Linked DNA regions of Homo sapiens: all the other regions are linked to region 1. The links are contacts of gene promoters, found by promoter capture Hi-C in human tissues and cell types (Jung and others, 2019). All regions are on one chromosome and are shown on one strand. The core of a region is centred on a gene start or on the middle of the fragment in contact, and the rest is flanking DNA. Distances in the headings are between cores, read along the strand shown. Region 1 holds the start of BOD1L2 (biorientation of chromosomes in cell division 1 like 2). Region 2 has its middle 79 kb from the start of LINC02565. Region 3 holds the start of WDR7-OT1 (WDR7 overlapping transcript 1). Region 4 overlaps LINC-ROR (long intergenic non-protein coding RNA, regulator of reprogramming).

Evidence for each region. Contacts are between HindIII fragments. The study calls those that stand out against the background at their distance.
Region 2: a contact is called between a fragment that was not itself captured here and the fragment with the promoter of BOD1L2 in region 1, in 8 of the 25 tissues and cell types used here (H1 embryonic stem cells, IMR-90 fibroblasts, adrenal gland and 5 more).
Region 3: a contact is called between a fragment that was not itself captured here and the fragment with the promoter of BOD1L2 in region 1, in 3 of the 25 tissues and cell types used here (neural progenitor cells, pancreas and thymus).
Region 4: a contact is called between a fragment that was not itself captured here and the fragment with the promoter of BOD1L2 in region 1, in 6 of the 25 tissues and cell types used here (H1 embryonic stem cells, aorta, hippocampus and 3 more).

Annotation. Positions count from the first base shown.
Region 1 is chr18:57,144,084-57,150,636 of GRCh38, forward strand. It overlaps BOD1L2 (biorientation of chromosomes in cell division 1 like 2), which reads left to right and starts at 3,004. Exons shown (of 1, transcript NM_001257964.2): 1 at 3,004-6,327. The coding sequence starts at 3,230. The coding sequence ends at 3,748. RefSeq lists an enhancer at 3,173-3,768. The HindIII fragment of the contact is 20,182 bases long and covers 1,436-6,553 here.
Region 2 is chr18:57,247,114-57,253,666 of GRCh38, forward strand. No RefSeq gene overlaps it. Among named protein-coding and RNA genes, the nearest start is that of LINC02565, 79 kb to the left of the region's middle. The HindIII fragment of the contact is 7,453 bases long and covers 1-6,553 here.
Region 3 is chr18:57,037,454-57,044,006 of GRCh38, forward strand. It overlaps WDR7-OT1 (WDR7 overlapping transcript 1), which reads left to right and starts at 2,526. Exons shown (of 3, transcript XR_001753461.2): 1 at 2,526-4,165; 2 at 6,507-6,553. The HindIII fragment of the contact is 3,837 bases long and covers 1,287-5,123 here.
Region 4 is chr18:57,059,700-57,066,252 of GRCh38, forward strand. The region is part of intron 2 of LINC-ROR (long intergenic non-protein coding RNA, regulator of reprogramming); the gene reads right to left. Among named protein-coding and RNA genes, the nearest start is that of LINC-ROR, 9.1 kb to the right of the region's middle. RefSeq lists enhancers at 1,991-2,880, 4,979-5,514. The HindIII fragment of the contact is 5,495 bases long and covers 1,300-6,553 here.

The DNA of each region.
Region 1 (6,553 bases), core at 1,754-4,253:
CTGAGGTTCCAGTATATTTACTCTTCTGAATTTTAGGATTAACTCCAGGAGTGGTAGCTGAAGCTGTCAGCAGCCAGAAACATTTCAATTTGAGTTGATTAGTCCAGTTTTTTCCTTTATCAGAAGTGGAGAGAAGTGGGCTGGAAAGGAGTGAATATGCAGAAAGTGCTTTGGTATTTGGGGAGGAGCTAAGAAAGGTATAAGTGATGTGGTCAAGGTGACTGGGAAGGAAACAGAACACAGAGCGTTAGGATGGGGGTGGAGGGGACACTAAAGATGTAGGAAGAGATGAAGGTAGAAAACACCAAAAGTTTTACCTGTAGAGATGTCACAAGAAGTATAGCAAAGACAAAGTCTTCCTGAGTCATAAAGGCAAGGGTCATCCCTACCCTTGAACAATACTGGTCTAGGTGCCTATGTAATACATGAGGAAAATTGATACTGATAAAGACTATTGACTGTTTCCTACCAGGTAATATTCAGAATGTCATCCCTCCTAGGCATCCTTGCATGTTAGAAGCTATGATATGAGATTATTGACAGAGTCTGTAATATTTTCTTGGTGAAATATACAATCTCTGAGTTATGCTAAGGATCATAGAACACTCTGGTATCTACATTTCAGAGTCTGACACTAGTGTGATTGCGGGTGTGGGATTAGTGGGTGGGAAGATGGTGTGATCTGTGTGATTGTGGGTGGGTGTGGTGGGGGAATGGATGTGGTCTGAGTTAGATGGCATGTGCCTGTGTGTATCTGTGTGTGTAGTTGCGGTGGGAGGCACTGGTTTGAATCAGCATGGGGCTTGCCTTGTCCGACAGGCAGCTGTCAGCCAAGGGGCACTTCCAGTTGTAATTGAGAAATGGCAGTGTGCTATCTCTCCCGGAGTGGGATGATAGTAATTAATTGTTCATTGATCCCTGCAGGTCAGCTAGAGGTCAGGGAAGTTACTCTAGTGGCCTTATAGTTTGCCAGGCAACCGGGAGCAGTGGTTTGAAGCCTCGGTGAGAGGTGAGAACTGTCCTGTGCCCTAAACCCTGATCCAAGGTGATGGGATAATTATGGTAACTTAATGTTTATGATTACAAATAATACACAAGTCAGCTATTCAGAAAAACCATGCCAGCACACTATTTAAGACTTGGGGAGGATGTGGAGAAAAGGTGTTTGACAGTGAACATTTTTCAGTACAGAATGGAACACTGCAATATGATTGTTATTATCATCACTTTCAAAAGCTTAGGTAAGTGTCCCTCTGTGGGTGAGGCTGTGATTGGAGAACCCCATAGATCTCATCTTGGATCCACATAGGTGATTGCATTCTAAGAGAACTCCTGTGCAATCTGAAGGGCTCATGCACAGTGAGGGGATAAATGAAGACTCAGTTCAGGCTCCAGCACTTCTGCAAAGTCTTCTTCCATCTGCCACGTTCTCCCAGGCTTCAGTGTTCTCCAACACATGACAGGGACACCCTCCTTTCATCTATGCAATCTTTATTCTGCAAATATTAATGGTGCCTCTCTTTTGTTCCAGGCACCATGCTAGGTGTGCATGTTGCATCTAAGTTCCCATGGAGCTTGTGTATGTCCTCAATGGTTTTCTCTGTCAACATCTCCCCTCTCCAACTAGATTGTAAGCTTTTCAAAGGCTGGCCATGTTGCCTGTCTTAAACAACAGCCACAGCAAACATTTATTGAGTGTTAGACTGGGCCAGGCACGTGGAGAGCTCCATAAAGCTTAGCACAGGGCCACATCGACTAGTCCCTCAATAAATATTGATTAATTTAAAAAAATACAGAACTGAATTGTCGAGCTGATCATGGGGATGGTGAGGAGCATAGGTAGGGGGTTGCTGTGGTGAAGTCTTGGTAGGTTCACTGTCTCCTGTGGGATGAGATTCAGAATACGTCCATCTGAGGCATCTGTACTTGTATGTCAGAAGCTATGGGGTGAGGTTATTGACAGAGTCTGTTGTGTAAACTTTCTTTGTGAAATATACTACCTTTAAGCTATGTTACGGCTTATAGAACAATGTGGTGTCTACATCTCAGGGGCATTTTAATTCAGGGAAGTGAGTGTTGGGGTGAAATCAGGGATCTGCTTTTCTTTTGAAATATTGATAGAAGGTTCTTTCTGTGCACCTGCACTTCTCTATTGGATGGCGCTGGATGTGGTTGCCTTTTGTGGCTCTTGGTTGCAATACAGTTCTCTTGTTGAAATGACCTCCTTCTGACTGACACATCTGCCCTAGGCTCATCAATGGCTACCAAAGCCAATGGACACCTTGTGGAACATAGTGTGGCATTTCACCCATGGCCTTCATGAAATGTACCTTTTGCGGTCTATGATCCAAGGCTTTTGTAGTTTTCCCTCCATCTTTTTAGTGTTGTTCTCAGTCCCCCTCATGGGCTCTCCAGGTGTTCCTCTATCTCTTCTAAGTTCTCCATTGTAATTGCCACCTATAGTCTCTACCTTCAGTGAGTTAGATGTCTCTCCCCAGCCCCTAGTCCTTGTATCTTTGGACTTCATAGGCAGATGTCTGCATCTGAATAACCCATACCCATCTTAAACTAGTAAATAAAAATGGAATGCACGATCATGTCTCTGTCTCCCATCCTCACCTCTATACCTGTTCTCCATTTAGTAAATGGCACCTCCATGCACCTGCCCAAGTGAGAAGCCTGGGGGTCATCCTTGACCCTCTCCTTTCCCTCGTCCCTCACCCCGTTGTTCTCCAATCCCTGGGATGAGTCTATCTCCTAAATATCTCTTGTATCCCTGTTACCTTCTTCACCTGCCAGGCCACGAAGATCATTCACTCCTCGCCATCTCCTTCTTAGGGCACTGAAATGGTTGCTGAAATTGTCTCCCTGTTTCGCCCTTGCCCACTGGCATTTGTTTCCCACCTCCCTCTTAGAGATCTTTTAAGAAATGCAGATTACGGTTCCCGCCTCACAATGCAAAGGTCAACGGTGACGCCATCTGGAGCGCGCTTGGAATCCAGCAGGCGGTTGCTGCCGCGTCTTCCACAACCTCCGCGGTCTGGAGCTGGCCTCCCCCACCGCCGCCCCAACCACCGGCCCCGCCGCCATCACCACCACCGTCACCTCCGCCGCTGCCTCCTTGGGGCCCTCCTCCTTCACCGCCCCCTTAGCCACCTCTACACATTCTAGGCTTTCTGTCCTGGAGAAGAAGCTATAATCGGTTTCCTTGTGGGCCCGGTGCGCAGCCATGGCGGACGGTGGCGGCGGCGGCAGCGGCGGTGCGGGCCCGGCCTCGACCCGGGCCAGCGGGGGCGGCGGCCCCATCAACCCGGCCTCGTTGCCCCCTGGCGACCCTCAGCTCATCGCTATCATCGTGGGGCAGCTCAAGAGCAGGGGCCTTTTTGACAGCTTCCGCCGGGACTGCAAGGCTGACGTGGACACCAAGCCAGCTTACCAAAACCTGAGCCAGAAAGCGGATAATTTTGTGTCGACACATCTGGACAAGCAGGAATGGAATCCTCCAGCAAACGACAACCAACTGCACGATGGTCTGAGGCAGAGTGTGGTTCAGTCAGGGAGGTCAGAAGCTGGAGTGGACAGGATTAGTTCTCAGGTGGTGGATCCAAAACTAAACCACATCTTCAGGCCACAAATAGAACAAATAATTCATGAATTCCTGGTGGCCCAGAAAGAAGCAGCTGTGCCAGCACTCCCTCCAGAGCCAGAAGGCCAGGACCCTCCAGCTCCGTCTCAGGACACTTCCTAAGAATATGCCTGACAGCTTTTGAAAGCGCTATTTAATTTTTGGTGAAGAAATGGATTCGGTTACATAAGAGTGCAGTTTCAGATTGAAGATAAGCCAAGTTCATCACTGAGCTCAAGATTTCCACCTCGACCATGAGCAGTGACCAGATTGAAAGGGAAGCAAGTTCGCCAGAGAGAAAGTTGACCGTGGCACCCTCCTGCATTGCGCTGCCATTTGGCCAGCCTTTCCAAGGGCATGACACCAAACACACACTACAGAGAGGGAAACACTACCGCGACCCAGGATTGTCCTGAAACAGACATCTATACTTGAACATGGAGACTGCACATGGATTTTAGGGTTTGTGCTCTGAGATAAACGAAAGCTACAGCGAGAGAACATAACCAATCCCAAAGACAATTTCAAAGAACAATGACAGTAAAGGTTAACTGGGAGGAATATTTGACAGTACTTATTTGATATTGTCTCTCAGAGTTGCAAACTAGATTGTACACAACATTAGTGTCAGATAGCTTTGAAGTTGTGACCTTCTTGTACATGAATCTTCTAGCCAGTTTCCTTTCCTTTGTAAGAGATAACAAAGCATGAAACCCTAGAATGAGTGAGAAGTTCAGACATTAGGTATAAGGAAACTCATTTGCAGACTCTCTGTCCAAGAATGCTTCCTGTCTTGCAGGGGCTAGTGAGTCTTGGGTGTGTTTATGTTATGCTCACATTTGTGTTTTATTTGAAAAGTGGATGGTCAATAAATGGCTTATCTTTCAACTGCAACAACAAAAAAGAAATGCAGATTTACATCCTTTTCCTCTTTAAGCTCCGTCAGTTTTCTGATATTTCTAGAAGGTCAGACACCTGGCATGGTTTATGAGGCCCGTGATAATGGGGCCCCTGGTCACCTCTGCTGCCCCGTACACTGTCATTTCTCATATGACAACCATGCCCATGACTATCCTGGACACCCTGTGTTCCCTCTGCTCACTGTGAAGGGAATGCCCTCAACCACTCCTACCCTCCTTTAAGACTCAGCTCCTGAGGAGCCACACATCGTCTAAGCAGGAGTGACAGACTCCTTCCTCTGTGCTCCCATAGATCTCATAAGGGATGACCACACTTACTATAGTAGCTAGGTCTGACGAAGCACTTGCTCTATTGCTCTACAGCTGGCAGTGTACTAAACGCTTAACTTCGCTTACCGTAGTAAGTCCTCATGATCTAATTGAAGAAATCGTATCTTTATTCCCATTTTTATTCCCATTTATAAATGTAGAAACCAAAGCTCAGACACTGCCTAAGTGGTGGGGCTGGGGCTGAGCCTGTATTGAGCACAGAGCCCTCACTTTTAACCCTTTTAACCATGCTTTTAGCCACACCACCTCACCACAGTGAACTGTCTTTGCTTACAGATCTGTCATCCCCACTTAAATGTGAGCTTCCTCCAGGGCAGGGATTTGCTTTGTTCATTTCTTTTCCTTAACCCCAGGACCTAGCACATCACAGGAGCTCAGCAATTTGTAGAAAGAAACCAGTTCTGGATTTGTCTTTTCCAACATTTAATTTCTCAGATGGCAGTATTTATCATCTAAAAAGTGAACAAAAATTAATTTTGCATCTAGTGTCTACATGTCTAAGCAAGAAAGAGCTTTCTTATCCCTGGAGGTATTTTATCTGTAATGTTTACCTATGAGCTATTTTAAATGATTCTTCAAAATTTAGAGTCCAGAAGGTAGAAGACCATGTCCTTTCTGAAAATGTCCCTTCCTTTCCCAGGTACCAGGCTCTTTTTAAAATTAGCTTCTGAATATGAACAACCCAGCTCTTTAAAGTTTAATGTCCCAGCCATTTTAATTGTTTCTTTCGAAGTACAAAAGAGCAGCTGGGCCACATCGGCACTAATCACTTGCCAACTTTCCTTTTTACAAAAACAGCTAAGCTCTTTCTGAGATTTAAAATCACTCCATCTGAGACCCCAGCTTGGCACCTATCTTTGCACTAACATAAAAGGAACCTAATTTCTGCTTTTAAGAAATGTGTTGCGGAAGTGATTTTTGGTTTGGGGTTTGTTCTCCTTCTTCTTTTTAAAAATAACGTAATAAAGTGTAATACAACTTTTAAAGTTTTTTTTTTCCTTTACCAGTTCTCTATTCTCCTTTTCTACTTGAATTGTCCTGAGACAGGTTGCCAGATAAAATACAGGTTGCTCAGCAAATGTGAATTTCAGAGAAACAACAGATACTCTCCTAGGGCATGGACCGTGCAATATTTGAAACATACTTGTATTAAAAAGTTATTTGTTGTTTATTTGAAATTCAAATTTACTGGGGCCCCATGCTTTAGTTTGCCAAATCTGCCAACCATAGCCTGAATGCTTCCCGTTCCCACCATGAGTTTGGCAAATGGAAAATGCTAACCTATGCGATGGACACTGCTGTATTCTGAAAATGAATATGTAAATAAATCAAACTACCGTGACTTGAGAGAGCTCATTACGTGCGTGCGTGCATGCCTGCCCACTGGTCCCTGCTAAATAATTCCCTTCTTGCAATCCAGAAGGATAAATAAATGTAATTTCTGGAATTCTATACATTCTTATCAATGAACTACAAGTATTTATTGAAAATGTCTATGTTTTGGGAAGACTTGGAGTCCAAAGGGGTAGGCGATACAGTCACTATCCCCAGAGTCACAGTTTAGTTTCATGAAGCAAGAAAGAAAATGATTTTAGTTGTAATCCTAATAATGAGTAAAGAGAGTTTCAGGGAAGGAATACAGCAGTAGACACCAGTGAGATAGAAAGAGCACGACAGA
Region 2 (6,553 bases), core at 1,874-4,373, 100 kb after region 1:
GTGGGTCTAGAGGAGTAAGTGAAACAGACATGGCTATATCCGCATTTGGCTTTGTGCAATTAATACCTAATATATGCTGAGCACATGGGAGAGGAGGGAGGAGATAACATTTCTTCACTTCAAAGACGTCCATCTAGTTGGAGAGATTATGCCAAGCTTTACAAGTGAAGGAAAAATTCCAAGGAAGTGTGTCCCTATTTTACAGCAGAGAGAAGATGACTTGACCAAGGTGAGTGGCAGAGCTGGGGGCAGAAGTTTCATATCCCAGCTCTGAGCCTGCGCCCAGCATGGCCGCAGGATGCAAGGAAGCACAGTGAAAACTGCCTTTTTTTTTTTTTTTTGAGACGGAGTCTTGCACTGTTGCCCAGGCTGGAGTGCAGTGGCGCGATCTCTGCTCACTGCAAGCTCTGCCTCCTGGGTTCACACCATTCTCTTGCCTCAGCCTCCTGAGTAGCTGGGACTACAGGCGGCCGCCACCACGCCTGGCTAATTTTTTGTACTTTTAGTAGAGACGGGGTTTCACCATGTTAGCCAGGATGGTCTCGATTTCCTGACCTCATGATCCGCCCGCCTCGGCCTCCCAAAGTGCTGGGATTACAGGCGTGAGCCACTAAGCCCGGCCGAAAACTGCTTCCTTAGGGATAATTGGTTATTGCAGTGATTCCATCTTGGCCTGCACTTCCTCTACACCCTCACAGCCATAGTGCCGCCCAAAGAATCCTCCCTGGCCAGCAGGTAGAGTCCCTGGAAGTATGGCTGTCACCACACAATCTCAGCATGAACCAGCTGTCCTAGTTTCCTGTGGCTGCTGTAACAAAGTACCACAAACTGGCTGGCTTAAAACAACAGGAATTTATTTTCTCACAGTTCTTAAGTCCAGAAGTCCAAAATCGAGGGGTCAGCATGGCCATAGTCCCTGGCAAAGATCCTGGGCATGGGCACACTCCTTGTGAATGTCACAGGCCCACTGTGCAGCCAGGGTGCTCTTCAAAAGTGGCAAGTGCCACAGTAGAGGACAGCTTCAGCTACAGTGTGTGTGCCGAACTGAGAGGCACCCTCTCACTGTAGGATTACATAAATCTTTATGGAGAAACAGCATCTGAGATGGACCTGGAAGGGTCGGCGGGGTTCAGACCTGCCGGGATAAGGGGAGGGCATTGCAAGCACAGGGCAGTGCAGGAGAGACTGTTGCTGTGCTCTCTAGATGGGAAGCAACAGGGAGAGTGGCTTCTCCCTCCTCAGCTGCCAGAAACTTTAGCAGGTGCATTTGAATTTAAAAATAAACTCACAATACAAATGACCTATACTGATACATATGTAAGACATATAAGACTTTGTGTGCAGCCTCTGTCTGCCTCTGAAGCATGGATACAGTTGATTCCCAGGCCCTGGGGGCTGAACCCCAAGTGAGCTAATCAAGGTGTTCTTTTCACATCAGAGGCTCTCTCTTGTAACAACTTCGAAGAAAATAAAATGTTCCCCACCTCAATTCATATTCAGTATATTACATCATCTCAGCAGTCTCAGGGGTAGGCACAATGACTGGCCTCATTTTGCAAAGCAGGAAATTGAGGCTCAGTGAGGTTAAGTGATGCAATTAAAGTTATATAGAAGGAAAGTGATGGGACCCAGTGTATACACACAGGTCTGCCTGGCTCCAAAGCCCTTAGCCTAATTCTTACCCACTGCCTGAATTGATCCAGTACCTTATCTACAGGCTGCCTCAAGGAGGATGGGGACAAACCAATCAAAATACTGTGGCATTTATGAAAGCTTTTTTAAAGTGGTTTAAAATGACCGGGAAAACAGGACGCTTTAGAAGACGTGCAAGATGCGGCTTGGCAAGAATTCTAACGAGCTCACAGGCTTTGCCGTGCATGCCTGGACTGTATCTGTTATGGGCCAGGGATGAAGGATTTATTCCATTCATGAATCAGAGAATAACTATTGTTATTATTTAGCATTGATTAATTGTTCCTCCCCCTAAACCCAGGTCTCTCTGCACAGTTCTCAGAAAATCATTAAGCTTCAGGAGTTGTCTGGGCTTTGACATTCTGGGTAAAAGCGCTGCATCGTGAGCCCTTCAAGGATAAGCCAGATCTCAGAGTGGCCTGGCAAAGGGCCACACAAAGGAGATGGCCCAGCCCACTGCAGGATGCTCCATGACCCCTCACCCCTGTCCTGGCCTCAAAGCAGCTCGTGGGAGGTCACCGTCGTGACCCAAGAAGAGGGGCAGAAATCACAGACCTCTGCTTCCTTACAAAGAAAACCAAGCAGGCTCCAACTGTTTCCCACACTAAGGATGTTGGGAAATGCATAAAAATTGTGTAATTCCTAATAAGGAGGGGTAACCCTTCAGGGGTAATTACAGCGGCCACATTTGTGTGGCTTGATTAAATGTAACATTGTAAAGGGAGCCAGCACGGTGAATTTCCATCCTGACATCCAATAATACTCCCTGACCCTTTGGATATTGTCCTCCCCGGAGGTCAAAAATATGAATAAATTATGGTTTTGACAACCTTGACATGGAGTAGAGGTGGGGTGAAAAGCTCTCTGGGAAAAAATTCTGACATTACATTTGTGATCACAGAGAATAAAGGAAAATTCATATCCTAATTTTGCTAAATTTAAGCTTGACGGAGAAGAACACAGAATAACCTTTGGTGTTATGTTTATTCAGAAGGCAAGGGGCCCTCAGAGCTCAAAACCAAGACATATCCTCTGTCATTCACCGTGAGGCGGGTTCCTAGTTCCTGCTGACAATTTTTATTGATTAGAAATTATCAACCCAGGGACAATGCCATCCAAAGAAGTTGGCTGAGAAACAATATTGTTAAATAGTTAGCCATGGTGCTTCCAGTCAGGTAAAATGTGTGCTCAGAGAGAGCGGGGCCATCCATCATGAGTGAGAAGCCTCATTTACAGAGACAACTGAGCCCAGGCAATCAGCCTGAAATCTGCTAAGCTGGGAATTTATAACAGTTCAGCAAGGGAGGGTTGTCTCTTGTTTTAGGTTCTGTCAGTGGATGGGGGAGGAGCAGAAATCAAGGCCTGGAAGGAGAGGAGTGAATTACTCAGGTGGCCTTGGGGAGGCCGCCTTTGGGATGAAGGGTAGGGGTCAATGTGAAGAGATCGTCCATCCATCCATCCCAGTCTGGAGCCTATCGGACTCAAGTTCAAAAACCCAGCACTGAGGACATAAAACCTACCGGATTTGTCATTTAAGCAGCTGGGAACATGTCCAGGCGGGAGCCCTACATCACTCAAAAGCCTGGATTGATGGCAAGAGAGGAACAGCCCAACACTCTTGTCCTTGACATCATGACCTTCATTTCACTGTGCCAATGGCAGCACCGTAACCTCCTCAGTGGCCAAGGCAGACACTCACCTCTCCTGAGCTGAGTCTAGAAGGGTCTACATGCCCGTAGAACAGATGCCAGAACGCTGTGACCCAGCTCCCAGCTGCTTGCCTCCCAAGCAAGTAGGCATTGACATTTCACAGAGCAACAAGTAAATCTGATTTTGTGCCGCAACACTCTTTACGAGCTTTCCCGCTTTTCCTGAGTGTGTGCCTCTGTTCTTTCCATCATTTCTTTCCCTTAAAATACCTCCTCTAGATGCTTCCAGGTAGTAGAGGGCAGTGGTTAAGCATTCAGGCTGTGGGATCATACTGCCTAGGTCCTAAACCAGGCTTGCTTTCTTCCTGGGTGTAGTGAACATTGTGGTGTGCCACTCAGCTGTCCCCTTCAAGCTCAAGGCACTCCTATCCCCAGCTTCAGGGGATGCCATGCCAAGCCATATTACAGCCCACAGCAAAGGGAAACATTAGTACTACTGCTCCTGTTTTACTTAAAATTTTGAAAGATGTTTATTCATCATGGATGGTTGCATTAATTTTTATATAACTTTGCATCAAACTATTATTAATCTTGATTGCTAGATGTGGCACCATCTGAAGTTTTGCATCTGGGGTGATGCCTCACTTCTTGCAGCCTAGGCTCAATCTTGGCAGGGAGTGTTGGCTGCTGATGGCTCACAGTTGAGCAGCTCCCCAGAAAGAAGCCTCGATCAGAGGGAGCTGCCTCCCAGCTTATGCCCCTCGAATGTAAGGAGCAGTCCACATCCAACGACTGGCCAGTGAGGAATTTCACAGACCCCTGGACTCAACTGAGACACCCCAAAGGGTCAGTCCAGCCCCCTCAGAGCTCCTCATGGGACTGGTCATATTGGTTTCCTGGGCTGCCATAAGAAAGTGCCACTATCTGGGTGACTTAGAACAACATAAAGGTATTGTCTCACAGTTCTGGGGGACAGAAGTCTGCAATTAAGGTGTCAAGAGGGCCTCCCTCCCTTTGAAGGTGCTAGGGAAGGATGTGTTCCCAGCCTCCCTGGCTTCTGGCTTTTGGTAGCTCATCAACTTATAGCAGCATAACTCCAATCTTCACACGGTGTTCTTTTATAAGGATGCCACTCATGTCAGATTAGGGGCCCACCCTACCCTGGTATGACCTGATCCTAATAATGACAGCTGCAACATCTCTATTTCCAAATAAGGTCACATTCTGAGGTACTGGGGGCTAGGACTTTAACATATGAATTTTGGAGGACATCATTCACCCTGCAAGTTCATCAGTGGAACTGCGCCATAGCCCAAGCCCTCCCTCTGCCCAGCCCTGCCCACCGGCCTCCGTCACTCCCTTACAGCTAACCCAGGGTAGCCCCCTGATTTCTTTCACTGGAAAAGACTTATCTACTCCATACTAATCCAGGTCAATGTTCTATCCAATTTAACACTCATACTCTCTCCTCCCCTGGGTATTTTGGACTTGGATGGGAGGGGATTACACAATTATTTATTTTTCCTCCCCCTACTTTAGCTGTTAGGGCAGAGAAAAATGTGTCTCACTTACCTGGAGTTGTCATGGTTCATGGTCTTCTCTCTCTTTCTCTTTTTCTCTCTCTGTTTCTCCTTTGTTTTCTTTTTAGAGACAGGGTCTCACTCTGTCACCCAGGTTGGAGTGCAGTGGCACAATCACAGCTCACTGCAGCCTCCAACTCCTGGACTCAAGTGATCCTCCCACCTCAGCCTCCTGAATAGCTAGGATTACAGGCACACACCACCACACTCAGCTAATTTTTTAAATTAATCTTATGCAGACAGGGTTTCCCTATGATACCAAGGCTGGTCTTGAACTCCTGGCCTCAAGCAATCCTTCCACCTCAGGGTCTTCTCTTTACTGACACTGACTCTCTAATTACACCCCCTGTGTGATAGGCCTCTTGTTGGGCACATGTGGAAATCATGGAGGGAGTTCTGGGTTGGGCAAAGTGGGTCTCTGATCTGGGCACCCACACTGCCAGCTCCTGTTTTGAGCTGGTAAAGAACTCAAGCCCGGCTATCTCCCATCAAGTCTGCTCAGCTCATATGCAACTCATGCCCCTTTCCTCACCAAACCATGGGGGTTCAGGGCACCGCGCTGCTGCCTTCTCTCTCTGCCCACCTGCTGTCTCTCTCCAAGCCTTTTCTCCCCTCCTCAGCTATACTCAGGAAGATCAGTGAGTCTATGGCTTCAGCATGAGCAATGAGAAAATGAGATGTTGGCCTCCCCTTCCTGTAGGCATTGCCGATCTCCATGAGGGATTCTCTGAAAGCCCCATCCCTCTCTATCTCTCACGTGGAGGAGGGAATCACAGCAGTCCACTGGATCAATAAACTCCAAATCCCTGCTAGTTCCTCTCTCTCCTCTGCCTCTCCCTGCTCAGTAGTTTCCTCATGTAGACTGAGGGAAGGGAGTTTGAGGAGATAGCTCTGGGATGGGGATATGGGCAGCAGAGTTGTTGAGCCATCTCTTGGTGAGCCAGCGGGGCCCCCAGACACTTGCTTATTTGAAAGTCCTTTTACAGCCCTTGTCTTCACCTGTGGGTCCTAGTTGCTGTTTCTGATGCCACAGCAAAGTATCACTCAGCATTCTGTTCCAGGAATCTCCAAGGGACCCAGTTCCCATCCCCCTGGAGACAGTGCCAGGGGCGATGTGTCTGCAGCCCACCTCTCCCTCCATGAAGACAGGCTGCCATTGTTGTCACCGAAGCCATGACTCCAATGGGGAAGTGATCTGCACTTTTACTCAGCCTGAGAGAGAAGTTGCCCCAATTACTTCAGCATGGCTTCCAAGAGGAGACCTTGGCTATGACTCTCATGAGCACCAAGTCCAGCGCGGGCTCTATCTTCTGCATCTTTCATGCATTTTCAGAGTCTAAATGCTGCGCCAAGTGGCCAGCACTTCCCAACCAAGAGGGTGAAAGGGATCCATGACCACCAGGTTGGTACTGAAGGCACCTCAGTCTCCTGGGTCCATCCTGATCTACCCTGGGGACTCCCATCAGCTTATTGTCTAGGACCATTTTCAGTGCAAAACCCAAGTACAAGCACCAGCCCCGACTTTTGTTTTACAGAGACCATCATAATTATATTTGCTTCAATAGGCATCCTTCATTGAGCCCTTACTACATGCCAAAAACTTCACATGCATGATTTCATCTCATGTTCATA
Region 3 (6,553 bases), core at 1,955-4,454, 110 kb before region 1:
CACAAATTAGTGATTTTACAACTCAGCAACCAGTTTTTTGTTTGTTTGTTTGTTTGTTTTCTTGTAGACAATGGATACTTTCTTTGGGAAAGTGGAAGTTGATTGACAGCAATTGGCCCTGGTTTTCATTGATTACGCAGTAGCATTTAGTGCTGCTGGCCAGTCCCTGGCACTGCCCGCTCTCCTTGCCTTCATGGGGCCACAACTTTCTGACTTCTCCCGTTTGCTTTTGCAGACACCTCCTCTTCCTCTAGATATTCTTCTCCAGAGAGGCAATCTTTAATAACTTGAGAGTCACTGATACATATAAAACAGACTTCCGAAACTTAAGATTAAAAAAATGGTTTGCCTCCCAGGTGACTTGAACAGAGAAGTATTACAAGACATACTCTCTCCACTTGGCCAGAATCAGCAAAGAGCATCCCCTGACAGGACAGGGGCTGTTCCAGTCTCTATTGTCACATATCGGGTTTACATAGTCTTGGCTCCCCATCCCTGATGATCTCGTTCTGGGAAATATTGGAATATATCAGAACCTACTAGAGCAAACCATAATATGCCACCATACTCACATCCATTAGCCTCAGCTTTGGCCCTGCAGCAGGCTCCAGGCTGTGACACACATCTCAGGTCTCTTTTCTAACAAGTGAAGGGATTGAGGATCCAGATGTGCTTGGAGCCCATGTGAGGCATTTGACATATGTAATTTCACTTAAGTCTCTCAATAATTCTGAATTAGCCCACATTGTATAGGTTAGAAAACTGATACACTGACAGGTTAAGTAACTGGCCTAAGGTCACACAGCTAGTAAAGTGGTAGAGTTGGGATTAAAATCCAAAGTGCTCTTTCCTCTCCATCAATGGACGCTATCATCAAGGCCAGCTTTATAGTAGCGAAAGAGACATGCTTTATTCTCATATTGACCTCAATAAAAAACCAAGGACCTCAAAATTCAATCTTCATTTATTTATTCCACAGTGACTTATTGAATGCCTATTATTTTCCAGGCATTTCTAGCAACGGTGAAATTAATACAGTGCAGGCACTCACATCCTTTATGCATCTCAAAGGCTATCTAGCTAATGCGCTGGATGTTGTGAGGCCCATTATCCATAGTGTACACACGCCCGCAGCCCCTCCTTCTGATGGTTTAACTTGGAGCAATCCTCAATGGTTGTGCATAGCCAGATACACGCACTATGCACACAGGCACTGGGTTCTGGGTCACCTCCCTGGCATCCCAGGCCTCTGTCTGCTTCCTTCAGTGCTTCCTTCTTCAGCCGTCCCTCCCTGGATCCCAGCCACCTGAGCTCCATCCATCCCTGATTTCATTCCTTTTTTTTCCTCTTCCAGCTCTAGTCCACAGCCTTCCTCCCCAGGACATGTGATTCAAGCCTGAAGCATACAATGGGAGCACAAAGGAGGAGGGGACAGAGAAAAGAAATGAGCATCAGCCTTGGGAATGTCTCCTCTGACTGTAGAGTCAGGAGACATTAAGATAAACATTCACTGGAACATATACATTCTGGTAGATTCCGATGAGAATTAAGCCCATTCATTCATCTGGTAAATATCTAGTGAACATCTACCATGCATCAGGCAGAGAACTAGGTGCTGGGATTGTAGTGGGGAAGGCAACAGTTGTGACACCTGCCCTTATGGGCTCACAGTCTAGTGGGCTGGGGTGGGGACTAAGCCAGCCACAAATTGTAACATGAGCAGTGACGGAAACAAGGGCAGCTGAGACCCAATAGCCCAGGGAAGGAGTGGGCAAGGTCAACCCGGGGTCTCTGAAGGAAGATAAGGAGCTGGATGTTGGTGGAGCAGTTGGAAGCGGGAAGAGCTTCTAGAGAAGAAAATAGCACGTGTGAGGTCCCTGAGGCAGAAGGGAGAGTGACAGCAGGTAATGAGCCAGGTGTGGCCACAAGTGAGGCATCTGGACAGTATTGAATCCTGTAGACAATGGTCAAGGGCACTCTTAGGGGACTCAAAAACCATCCAAAAATTGTGAGTTGAAAGGTGTGATTTAATTTAGCTAGAAAACACCACTCAGCTGCAATGTGGAGAATGGGTTGGAGTGGGTTGGGGGAAACGGGGTTTGTTAATTATCTATACAGTAACAATATTAGCACAAACTTCTTAAAACACATTTGCCCGGGTGCAGTGGCTCATGCTTGTAATCCCAGCACCTTGAGAGGCTGAGGCAGGCAGATCACTTGAGGTCAGGAGTTCAAGACTAGCCTGGCCAATATGGTGAGACCCCATCTCTACTAAAAATACAAAAATTAGCTGAGTGTGGTGGTACACACCCATAATCCTACCTACTTGGGAGGCTGAGGCAGGAGAATCACTTGAACCTGGGAGGCGGAGGTTGCAGTGAACGAAGATGGCACCACTGCACTCCAGCCTAGGCGACAGAGTGAGACTCTGTCTCAAAACACACACACACACACGTACACACACACACGCACACACACACTTGCATGCACACATGCGCATGCACACACGCGCATGCACACACACACATATTTATGGCATTACAGCTTCTCGGAACCAGGCATCCAGCCTAGGCTTAGCCAGGAGCCTTGGCCTCAAGATCTCTCACAGGCTGCAATCAAGGTGCTGGCTGGGTCTATGGTCCCATCTGAGGCTTGTGAGGGAGAGAATTTGCTTCAAAGTTCATGTCATTGTTGGCAGAATTCAATTTCTTCTGCTTGTAGGACTGGGGGCCTCACTTTCTCGCTGGCTGTCACTGGAGGCCCTTGCAGGCTGTTGGCTGGAGCCTAGAGGCTTCCTGCAGCTCTCTGCCACTTGGAGTTTCCCAACACAGTCACACTGCAGCGGTGGTGGCATTATGGCTGAATCTTGAAAGATGAATAGGAGTTTCCCAGGGTGGAAGAACATTCAGACAAAGGGGAGACGTGACTGAAGGCATGGAACTGTGAAGGCAGGTGATGTTTTCAGGGAGCAGCAGATGTAGCCAGTCCCTTACCCAGAGCCATGTTCCCCTTTATTCCATGCTTCTAAGCCTGGGCTTGGCTCTGTTCTTTGCACCAATGACCATGTGCTCAGGCTGGAGTTTATCAGCCTTGGAAATGGAAGCTTGATTAATTCAAGCCAGCAAGCTCATGCAGTGCCTAGTGGTATAAGTAAGGCCTTCAGTGCCATTCTGGCCCATGAGGTGGGAGGGGGGTGCTCTTGGGAAAGGTTTTCCTCCCCAGTGAAAAGAGACATTCACGTAGAAGTTTCTATCTGTGGACATAGCTGTGTGAATCTGTGATACCTGGGAACCCACAAGCCATTTTGGGCCTATGTTGGAACCCACCTTGGCTCAAGCCAACTTACTGGGGTAAATCCTCAGTGACATCACTGGGCTTCTAGAGGAGCCAGCCCTGCAGACACCCACCTCTTTCTCCTGTCATATGATATAATCATCTTCCCCACTGGCTGAGCCCCTTGCAGCCAACCCTTGAAAACAGACTGTACAGTGTACAGTGACATGGCATGAAGTGATTCAAACTCATGAGCTGAAGCCAGCATGAAGATCTTTGTAGCCAGTGACACGGAGCTAGGCTGTTTCCTGAGAGGTCTGGAGAGTTCTCAATGATTTTCAGGGCAACAATGATCCCATATCTTGGCTAAACCTGGTGGCAGGATGCATCATAGTTTAGAAAATGGAGATCGTTGTGACAGGGAGGCCAGGGATGGCTGCACATCTAGAGATTCTGAGAACTCAAACTATTGCAGGTGTGATGGACACCAAAAGGAAGGGCCAAGGGACATGTAAGAGGCAGGAGTTAGAGGAGTTGGTGAGTGAAATGTCAGGAAGGAGGCAGAAGCCCAGGGTTCCCCAGTGCGAGAGATGGGGGACCAATGGCATTTGCCAGTCCAGAATACTCACATTCTTGGAAAACATCATCCATGTTCACACCTTGATTCCTTCACTGCTACTGTTCCCTTCGCAGGTAGGATCCTTCCACAGAAAATTCCCATTCACATAATCCCACATTATAGCATTGCTGCCGTGGGGAAGTCAGATTCCATTTACACTATTCAGACTTGCAGTCCCTCAGTCAGGAACACCAGCTCCAGGAGTGAGACGCACCTCTACGAACTGTATTTACGTTAACCCTCAGAACACCATCCCACATGACAAGCCACAGGGTGAGTAGAAGGCTGAATTACTTCAAATGTATTGGTTAATAACTTAGTCAAAAAATACAAAGCTGCAGTGTCTGTCACATTGGATCTATTTCTTGAAGACAAAGGCTAAGCTTCATTGCCGGCTCAGAAATGCACTGGAAACAATTCTTGTTGTTTCACTTCCTGGGGCTTATATTTCTTGCTGTTTGTAAAATATGGTATTAGATAACAAAGAAGAGTCTGGGTAGAAAAGGGTAGAGTCTACATTCCTCATGTTGAAAACCTGCTTAGGGTGATTTTCCCCTTACTGAACTCCTAAAATTACCAAAAAAAAATGTATTCAATTATTATATTTTGAATTTCATCAAGAAAAAATGTGTGGAAATTTGTTTTCTCTCTGTGCAATATTCTCAATTTTGCCTCTTAGCCCACAAAGCCTAAAATATTTACTATCTGGCCCTTCAGCAGACAAGGTGGCTGTCTTAGTCCATTTTGGCTGCTATAGCAAACTGCCATAAGCTGGGTGGCTTATAAACAACAGAACTTTATTCCTTACAGTTGTGGAAGCTGGGGAGTCCAAGATCAAGGCATGGGCAGGTTCAGTGTCTGGTGAGGGCCCAGTTCCTGGTCACAGAATGCATCTTCCTGCTGTGGCCTCACATGGTGGAAGGGGTGAGGGAGCTCTCTGGGGCCTCTTTTATGAGGGCACTAATCTCATTTACTAGGGCTCTGCCCTCATGGCCTAATCAACTCCCAATGTTCCCATCTCCCAATACTGTTGCTTTGGTGATTAGGTTTTAATGTATGTATTTTGAGGGGACACAAACTTTCAGTCCACACTGGTGACTGACTCCTGAGCTACAGCCATACCATTCAAAGTGTGGTCTGGCACTTCTCAAAAAAAGACATTTCTGTGGCCAACAAACACATGAAAAAAAGTTCATGATCACTTAGAGAAATGAAAATCAAAACCACAATGAGATACCATCTCATGCCAGTTAGAATGGCGATCATTAAAAAGTCACGAAACAACAGATGCTGGAGAGGATGTGGAGAAATAGGAACACTTTTACACTGTTGGTGGGACTGTAAACTAGTTCAACCATTGTGGAAGGCAGTGTGGTGATTCCTCAAAGATCTAGAACCAGAAATACCATTTGACCCAGCAATCCCATTACTGGGTATATACCCAAAGGATTATAAATCATTCTACCATAAAGACACATGCACATGTATGTTTATTGCAGCATGGTTCACAATAGCAAAGACTTGGAACCAACCCAAATGTCCAGCAATGATAGACTGGATAAAGAAAATGTGGCACATATACACCATGGAATACTATGCAGACATAAAAAAGGATGAGTTCATGTCCTTTGCAGGAACAGGGATGAAGTTGGAAACCATCATTCTCAGCAAACTAACACAGGAACAGAAAAACAAACACCACATGTTCTCACTCATAAGTGGGAGTTGAACAATGAGAACACATGGACACAGGGAGGGGAACATCACACCCCAGGGCCTGTCGGGGGTGGAGGGCAAGGGGAGGGATAGCATTAGGAGAAATACTTAATGTAGATGACGGGCTGATGGGTGCAGCAAACCACCATGGCACAGGTATTCCTATACCTATGTAACAAACCTGCACGTTCTGTACATGTATCCCAGAACTTAAGGTATAATTAAAACAAAAACAAAAACAAAAACTAAAAAGCAAAGTGTGGTCTGGGCACCAGCCGCATCCATATCCCCTGGGAGCTATTTAGAAATGTAAAACCTTAGGTCACACCCAGACCTCCTGGGTCACAACTGCATTTTGGCAAGCTTCCTGGATGATTCGTGTGCACCTACAGTTTAAGAAACACTTCACAGGAGTCCATGTGGAACCTCACAGGTGCTGTTGATAGTTTCATTAGGCACCAGGCTGGGACTGGCTCTGGGCACCACCATTCACTGTGTCCCAAGGTGGAAGCCCAGGCCTCTTGCACAGGGGTGCACTAAGGTATGCTGCTCCCCATCAAAAGATTGGCCCAAGCCCAGATCCTAAAGCCAATCTCTCTGGGGCATCTGTTTTCCCATCTGTATGACGGAGGGGTTGGAAAGGCTGATGTCAGAAGACCAGTATGGCTTTATCATGTGTTTGGTTTTTGTTTGAGGGGGATTGATAGGATGATTTCTGTCCATGTTCATGTTCATGTTCCAGAAACATGGTAGGTTGAGATGAAAAGGGCATGACAAGAACCACAGCAGCTTCCAGATGAGGCTAGTGTATGGAGATGTGAGATTCGGGATGTTTCATTTTACATAGATCATATTCTGTAAGGTTATTCTTCTAGTTCTATGTTTCTTTGCATCATAGGAAAAAGGAATCGGATCCAGGGAAAACGCTGTACCACTGGGGCCCGG
Region 4 (6,553 bases), core at 2,797-5,296, 83 kb before region 1:
ACATCTACACTCAGGGCAGGTGACCCAGGTGGCCCAGGATGGCAGCCAGCAGGGCCCTATGGTGTACCTATAATTTTGGAGTGAAATCTAACTTAGGTGGGTGTCCACTCACTGCCTGCCAGTCTCGGATGGGTTCTGACAACAGAGGAAACAGCTTAGTGGAAGCATAGAAAAATAGCAGCAGATAACAGCTCTGGAAACTAAACCTCTGGGTGGTAGAACTGCAGGGGACTCAAGGGAGCATGTCATTCCACCTCTTCATTTTGTGGAGGAGAAACCAATGCCCATGGAGACCAATGTCTTATCCACTACGACACAGCAGGCCAATGGCCTAGGGCCAGTCTGGGGCTCTTTCTCCTCCACCATGGCTTCTCAGCATTGTCAACTCAGTCTCCTCTTTACATGACAAATATTTTGTAATGACCTCTTTACTATCCTGATATAGCATTTATAGATAATATAACCTGCCTTTATCCATAATAAAAAATCGATGTAATGCCCTACCTGTAATATAGGGAGAAATAAAACGAAAGTCATTTATAATAAAGTAGTTCAATAAGTAAATACACAGGCACAACTGTACTCAAATGAATGCCACAGCTATACACACAGACTGATGGAGGTAGGTTGTATTGTATTTGTGACTTCAATACCTTAAGTGTTGTTGCTGTTGATTACGTGATTTTTCTTTTTTTTTTTTCTTTGAGAGGGAGTCTCACTCTGTTGCCCAGGCTGGAGTGCAGTGGTGTGATCTCGGCTCTCTGCAACCTCTGCCTCCCGGGTTCAAGCGTTTCTCCTGCCTCAGCCTTCCAAGTAGCTGGGATTACAGACAGGCACCACCATGACCAGCTGATTTTTGTATTTTTGGTAGAGATGGGGTTTCATCATTTTGGCCAGGCTGGTCTCGAACTCCTGACCTCAAGTGATCCACCCACCTCAGCCTCTCAAAGTGCTGGGATTACAGGTGTGAGCCGCTGCACCTGACTGATTTTGTGATTTTTCTGAAATGGCAAACAACTCTCGGTAAAGACACAGTGCAAGCTCCCCTCTGTAGAGAAATGTGAGCCCGTTTCCTGGAATGCAGCATGAGGCTGGGGTAAAGTGGTGATGCTTTCTCTAGGAGGTACAATCCCAGGGCAGCAAGCATGAAAGACAAGGAAGCGTGGCAGTGAAGGTGGAAAGCCACACAAACTTATGCGCTGCTGGACAGCCGCTGCTTCAAGACATGCTGTGAGGAGGGTGTGTACGCTCGGCCACACGGGAAGTCCCCAGCCAGCTTGTACAGAGAAATCAAACTTTAGAACAGTCCCCAGGGAGAAGGAAGAAAGTGGGAATCCTGATACCCAATGGCCAAAGTTCATTCCATGGGGAATTGACTCTCCTGTACTTCTGGGTTATGTTATCTGGTCCCTTGGCAACTGAGCAGGAAGCCAGATCACACCTCCTTGAGCGTGGCCTGTTATGTGATGCTAGAAGCAACAGAAGCATTCTGAGATTCACGGCACAAGGGCACATGGCTGGTGGGGCTTAGGTGGTGGAATGAGGATGCCTTGTTGAGACTCAGGTGGAGCAGAAAGCTGAAAGCCCAGGTGGCAAGGTGCAGCGAAGAGAATCTGAGGAGATGAATATGCTGTGTCCGATCCAATATAGTGATTGCAATCCTGGAAGACCCGTTGTATGTTAAAACCTTTTAAATTTTTTATGTTTATATATGAAAAAGAGTTACATTTCAAGCTCAGATCACTATAAAGATGTTTTTCAATCTATTCCAATGTTTAGTGGAACATCTGAAAGTCACATAGAGCACGGGACGATTATTTATTCTGTCCCTTAGATTTCAGGAAAATGATCACTGATATTTGTAAGTTTTAGGCCTTGTTCTAGGGGCTTTGTAAAGGTTGATTCACAGCATGTGCACAACAATCTTGGGAGGTAGGCATGGTTATTATTGCCATTTTACAGATGAGGAAACTGAGGCCAGAGAAGTTTACACAGCCAATCAGTGCTAGAACTGTGATTGGAACTCAGGGGTCTGGATCTTCAGCGGTTCCAGTCTTCATCCTCTAAATGCCACTGGTATCTCCTCTACCAATTGTTGGGACAAGAAACACACTCCCAGAAATTTCTCCCCAGCCCATGGGAGCAGTATGTTCCCCACAGGCCCTTTGCACAGTTCACAGATGGACACATGGCCCCCAGGGAGCTGGGCCTGCTGGGGCCACCACCTAGAGCCCCAGGTTTACTAACCCTGAGCAGGGTCAGGGATGGAGTGGGTGCAAGGGGGCCTGCAGGAAAGGGAAAGGTGAAGGGAGGAAGAATTTGGAGCCTCCTTGTGCGCCATTTCGCTGTGCTTCTAGATGCTTTCATGGCGGGCTGGGCGTTTGGCTGAAGTGGTGGCTACAGATTTCAAGGTGTTTTAAAGGCTATCACCCAGACTCCGGTCAGGCACCAGAGAAAATAAAAACGAAACCCCAACCCCAAACCAAGCCAATCTCCTGTTTCTGGGTCTGAGGGCTCCAGGGGATTTCAGAGGATGAGGGCACATCTGAGGTCCTCGTGGTCATCTTGTTTCCTGGCTAACTTCGCCTCCTTCCACTCCACTCTGATCCTTTGGGCCTCCCCGATCTCCCTTAACCCTGAGTTCACCCCTGAGCCCCTTCACCCTCCACTGAGAGGGGCCCTGGCCCCTGCATCTCTTCCTTCTCTGGCTCTGAGTCTCTGTGATGTGCCAGTGCTGTGCTCCTGGCCGCAGTGTAACAGACCTTCTGGCCTGTCTTGAATTTCCTGCACTCAGGATATACAAAGTTGGAGTTGAGATGGTGGATGAGGCATAGCTCACAAAGAGTATTAGTTCTCCCATTAAAATGGGCAGCTGTTTAATTTCATGCCAACTCATGATGGCATTTTCCAGAACAGAAAAAAATAAACAGAAAAAAAAAGAGAGAAACAAAAACCAATGCAAGATGAGTTTCCATTTGGAAATCAAATATGTGTCCATTTATTTGCACCTGAGATTCTAGAGGCAAAGGAATTCCAAGCTTCGCTAGTGGACCTTGAGTTTTCCCTCCCTACTCACAATGACTACAGGGGCTCTGGGTGTCACTTTGAGACCTGGCTTCAGCCCAGGTGTGCTATGTCTGCACAGATGTGCTGTCTCCTCAACTGCTTCCACACCCTGCTGCACCCCATGTGCCGCTGCCCAGGAGCCGGCAGAGCCCCAGCGGGCCCTTTGTCACTCGCTACCCAATGTGCATTCTCCAGTGGGCACAGCAGGCAACCCTGCTCCGCGGGCCTCTGCCCGAGCCAGGGATTACGGGATGGGCTTGCCTGCAGTGGCAGATGGTAGTGCTTAGAGCTAAACTGCATTTGGCGCTTTGAACATCTTGAAAAGATTTCTTTAGAAGTTAAACTTGGCTTAGGAGTGACAATATGTTTCAGTCTGTGTCTTTGAAAAGGCCTCAGGGTGGTGCGAGGGGGGTTGGCTGTTTCATGGTTCCCTGCCTTGTCTTGGCTGTTTTCCACGGAGTCCTGTTTCTCATGGGTCCTGCAGTCACAGTGGCTTCTAAATTTTGGCTCCATTGTTTGGAAGTCACATTTGTTTCTGTACATGTGCTGTGGGAAAGGCCACACTGGCTGTCCTGCAAGGACACATTTAGATGCCTCTGGGCAGTGGGAGAAGCGCATGCCTTGGGGCACACATGGAGGCAGAGGGCGTTGTGTCCTGCACCAGGGCTGAGTTTTGCTGTTGCCCCTGCTTCAGCCTATCAAGGGGTTGACAAGCATCCGGGCAGGGTTTGGGGTCCCAAACCTTTTGGCATCAGTGAGGACCAATTGACAGCTTCTTGCCTCCTGGAGCTCATGGCTAATTGCACTGGAATAATACCCTCCAAATCCCCATCCTAGGCTTGTCCTATTTAACGAATCCTTTGGGGGACAAAGGGTTTGATCATCTCTGAGCTCAGATAACATCTCTCTTCCCCATCCCACAATTTTCCCATCCTCAATTTGGCCACTGTAAACTCTGTCAGGAAAAACCCAGCCTTCCTCCCAAGGAAGGCACCCAGGAGCACCTTCTGGGGTGAGTGAAGCCCTGAAATTGGCAGAAAGGCAAGGCGAGTGTCCAGCTTGCATGCCAGGCTGGCCAGTGCATCTCTCAGTGGCTTCTGCAGTCAGAGCAGGCTCCATTGACCATTCATGAGATGTCAGGTGGTCTACAGATGGGAACACAGCATTATTGATTTTTACTAGCCTGCTAAAATGGAAGGGAAAATACCCTTCTTAAAAGCTCCCGGTTAAGCTTTGTTTCCTAAATGGTGATTCCAGGGCTCTGAGTTTGTCAAAGGCAAATTTAAAATAACAGGACTGTTGAAGATATAATAAAATGAAATCTTCTTACAGCCATTAACTTCAGAGAGGAGATCTCTGACTCAGGCTTGGAGGCTAAGGGGGAGAGGGAGAGAGACCCACAGAGTGGGGGAAGGGGGAGAGAGGAAGCTGAAAGAACAAAACCAGCAGCTCTGCCCCTCATGGCAGCCCCTTTGATAAGATCGGATGTGAATGTAAAGAAATGAATTCCACCTTCTCTAAATTGACAACAGTTCCCTGGCCAAGCAACGACGGGATGTGATCAGGGAGCACTGGCCTGATGGGCCCCCACCAAGTGCACTGACTTGGAAAATGGGGAAAGTTGGGGGTCAGGCGATGAGCTCTGGGGGAGGAAGCTGGAGAATGAGGAGGCTCCAATTGCCCTACCACTATTACTTATTTAGATGTTGTTTCTTGTTCATCTTCCTGAGAGCTCTCGTAGTCCCAATGACTGGAACACAGATGAGGACACGGTCGTGTCTGCAGGGGTGTCTGCACTTCCAGTTGGCTTGCTTGGATGTGTGTGGTTCTTGGAGCCATCTTGGGTGATTTTCCTCCAAATCTTTGACATTAGGGAAAGCCTTTCATGCGCGTCCGTGTGAAGAGACCACCAAACAGGCTTTGTGTGAGCAACATGGCTGTTTATTTCACCTGGGTGCAGGCGGGCTGAGTCCAAAAAGACAGTCAGCGAAGGGAGATAGGGGTGGGGCTGTTTTATAAGATTTGGGCAGGTAAAGGAAAATTACAGTCAAAGGGGGTTTGTTCTCTGGTGGGCAGGAGTGGGGGGTCGCAAGGGCTCAGTGGGGGTGCTTTTTGAGCCAGGATGAGCCAGGAAAAGGACTTTCACAAGGTAATGTCATCACTTAAGGGAAGGACCGGCCATTTACACTTCTTTTGTGGTGGAATGTCATCAGTTAAGGCGGGGCAGGGCATTTTCACTTCTTTTGTGATTCTTCAGTTACTTCAGGCCATCTGGGCATATGCGTGCAAGTCACAGGGGATGCGATGGCTTGGCTTGGGCTCAGAGGCCTGACATTCCTGCCTTCTTATATTAATAAGAAAAATGAAACAAAATAGTGTTGAAGTGTTGGGGCAGCGAAAATTTTTGGGGGGTGGTGTGGAGAGAGAGAATGGGCGATGTTTCTCAGGGCTGCTTCGAGCGGGATTGGGGCGGCATGGGAACCTAGAGTGGGAGAGATTAAGCTGAAGGGAGATCTTGTGGTAAGGGGTGATATTGTGGGGTTGTTAGAAGAAACATTTGTCATATAGAATGATTGGTGATGGCCTGGATACGGTTTTGGATGAATTGAGAAACTAAATGGAAGATACGAGGTCCGAATAAAAGAAGGAGAAAAATGGGTATTAAAGAACTAAGAATTGGGAGGACCCAGGACATCCAATTAGAGAGTGCCCAAGGGGATTCAGTGTAATTACTTGCTTGGTTGGCAAGTTTTTGGGCTCTATCCTTGAGTTTTTTTATGTTGTCATACACCAGGCCAGATTGATTTAGGTAAAAACAACACTCTTCATTTAAGAATATACAGAATCCTCCTTTTTCAACAGTGAGTAAGTCAAGGCCTCGGCAGTTTTGGAGGACAACTGCAGCTAAAGAGTCAACTTGGGCCTGGAGGACTGATAAAGTTTGTGATATGTCTGTGATGCTAGCAGAGAAGTCATTAGACAGGCTACGGAAGGTCGTGACAGAGGTTGAAATGCCTGCTATTCCAGTACCGAGAGCAATAGTGGAGGCAGAAAGTCCTAAACCAACCATCAAGGGAATTAGTGGAATAACTCTTTTTTGTCATGTCGGTGTCATGAGGGGAACAGGGAGCTCTTCGGTCCCATTTGCAAATTGAATTTTGGGGGTAAGGAAAACTAGTGTGCATGTGCCTGTCCAATTAGCAGGTAGACACATGTAGGTAGAGGATCCACAGAGGAAGAAGAGACCTTGTGCAAGGCAAAACTGGAGATGTAAAGTAAAAAGGTGAGGAGTGCTGAAAGGGGTGTCTTGTACCCAGACTCCTAGGGATCCAGCTAGGGCGGCAGCCGTCAGAGGTTGTAATGGGGACTGATGGGGTAACTGCATAGAGGAGGAGGTTCGATTTTCATGGTGTATGAGAAAACGTTGACTATCCACGAGCAACCTTTCACTGTTATTTTCGGGACTGGGTATAAGTAAACAAGAAGA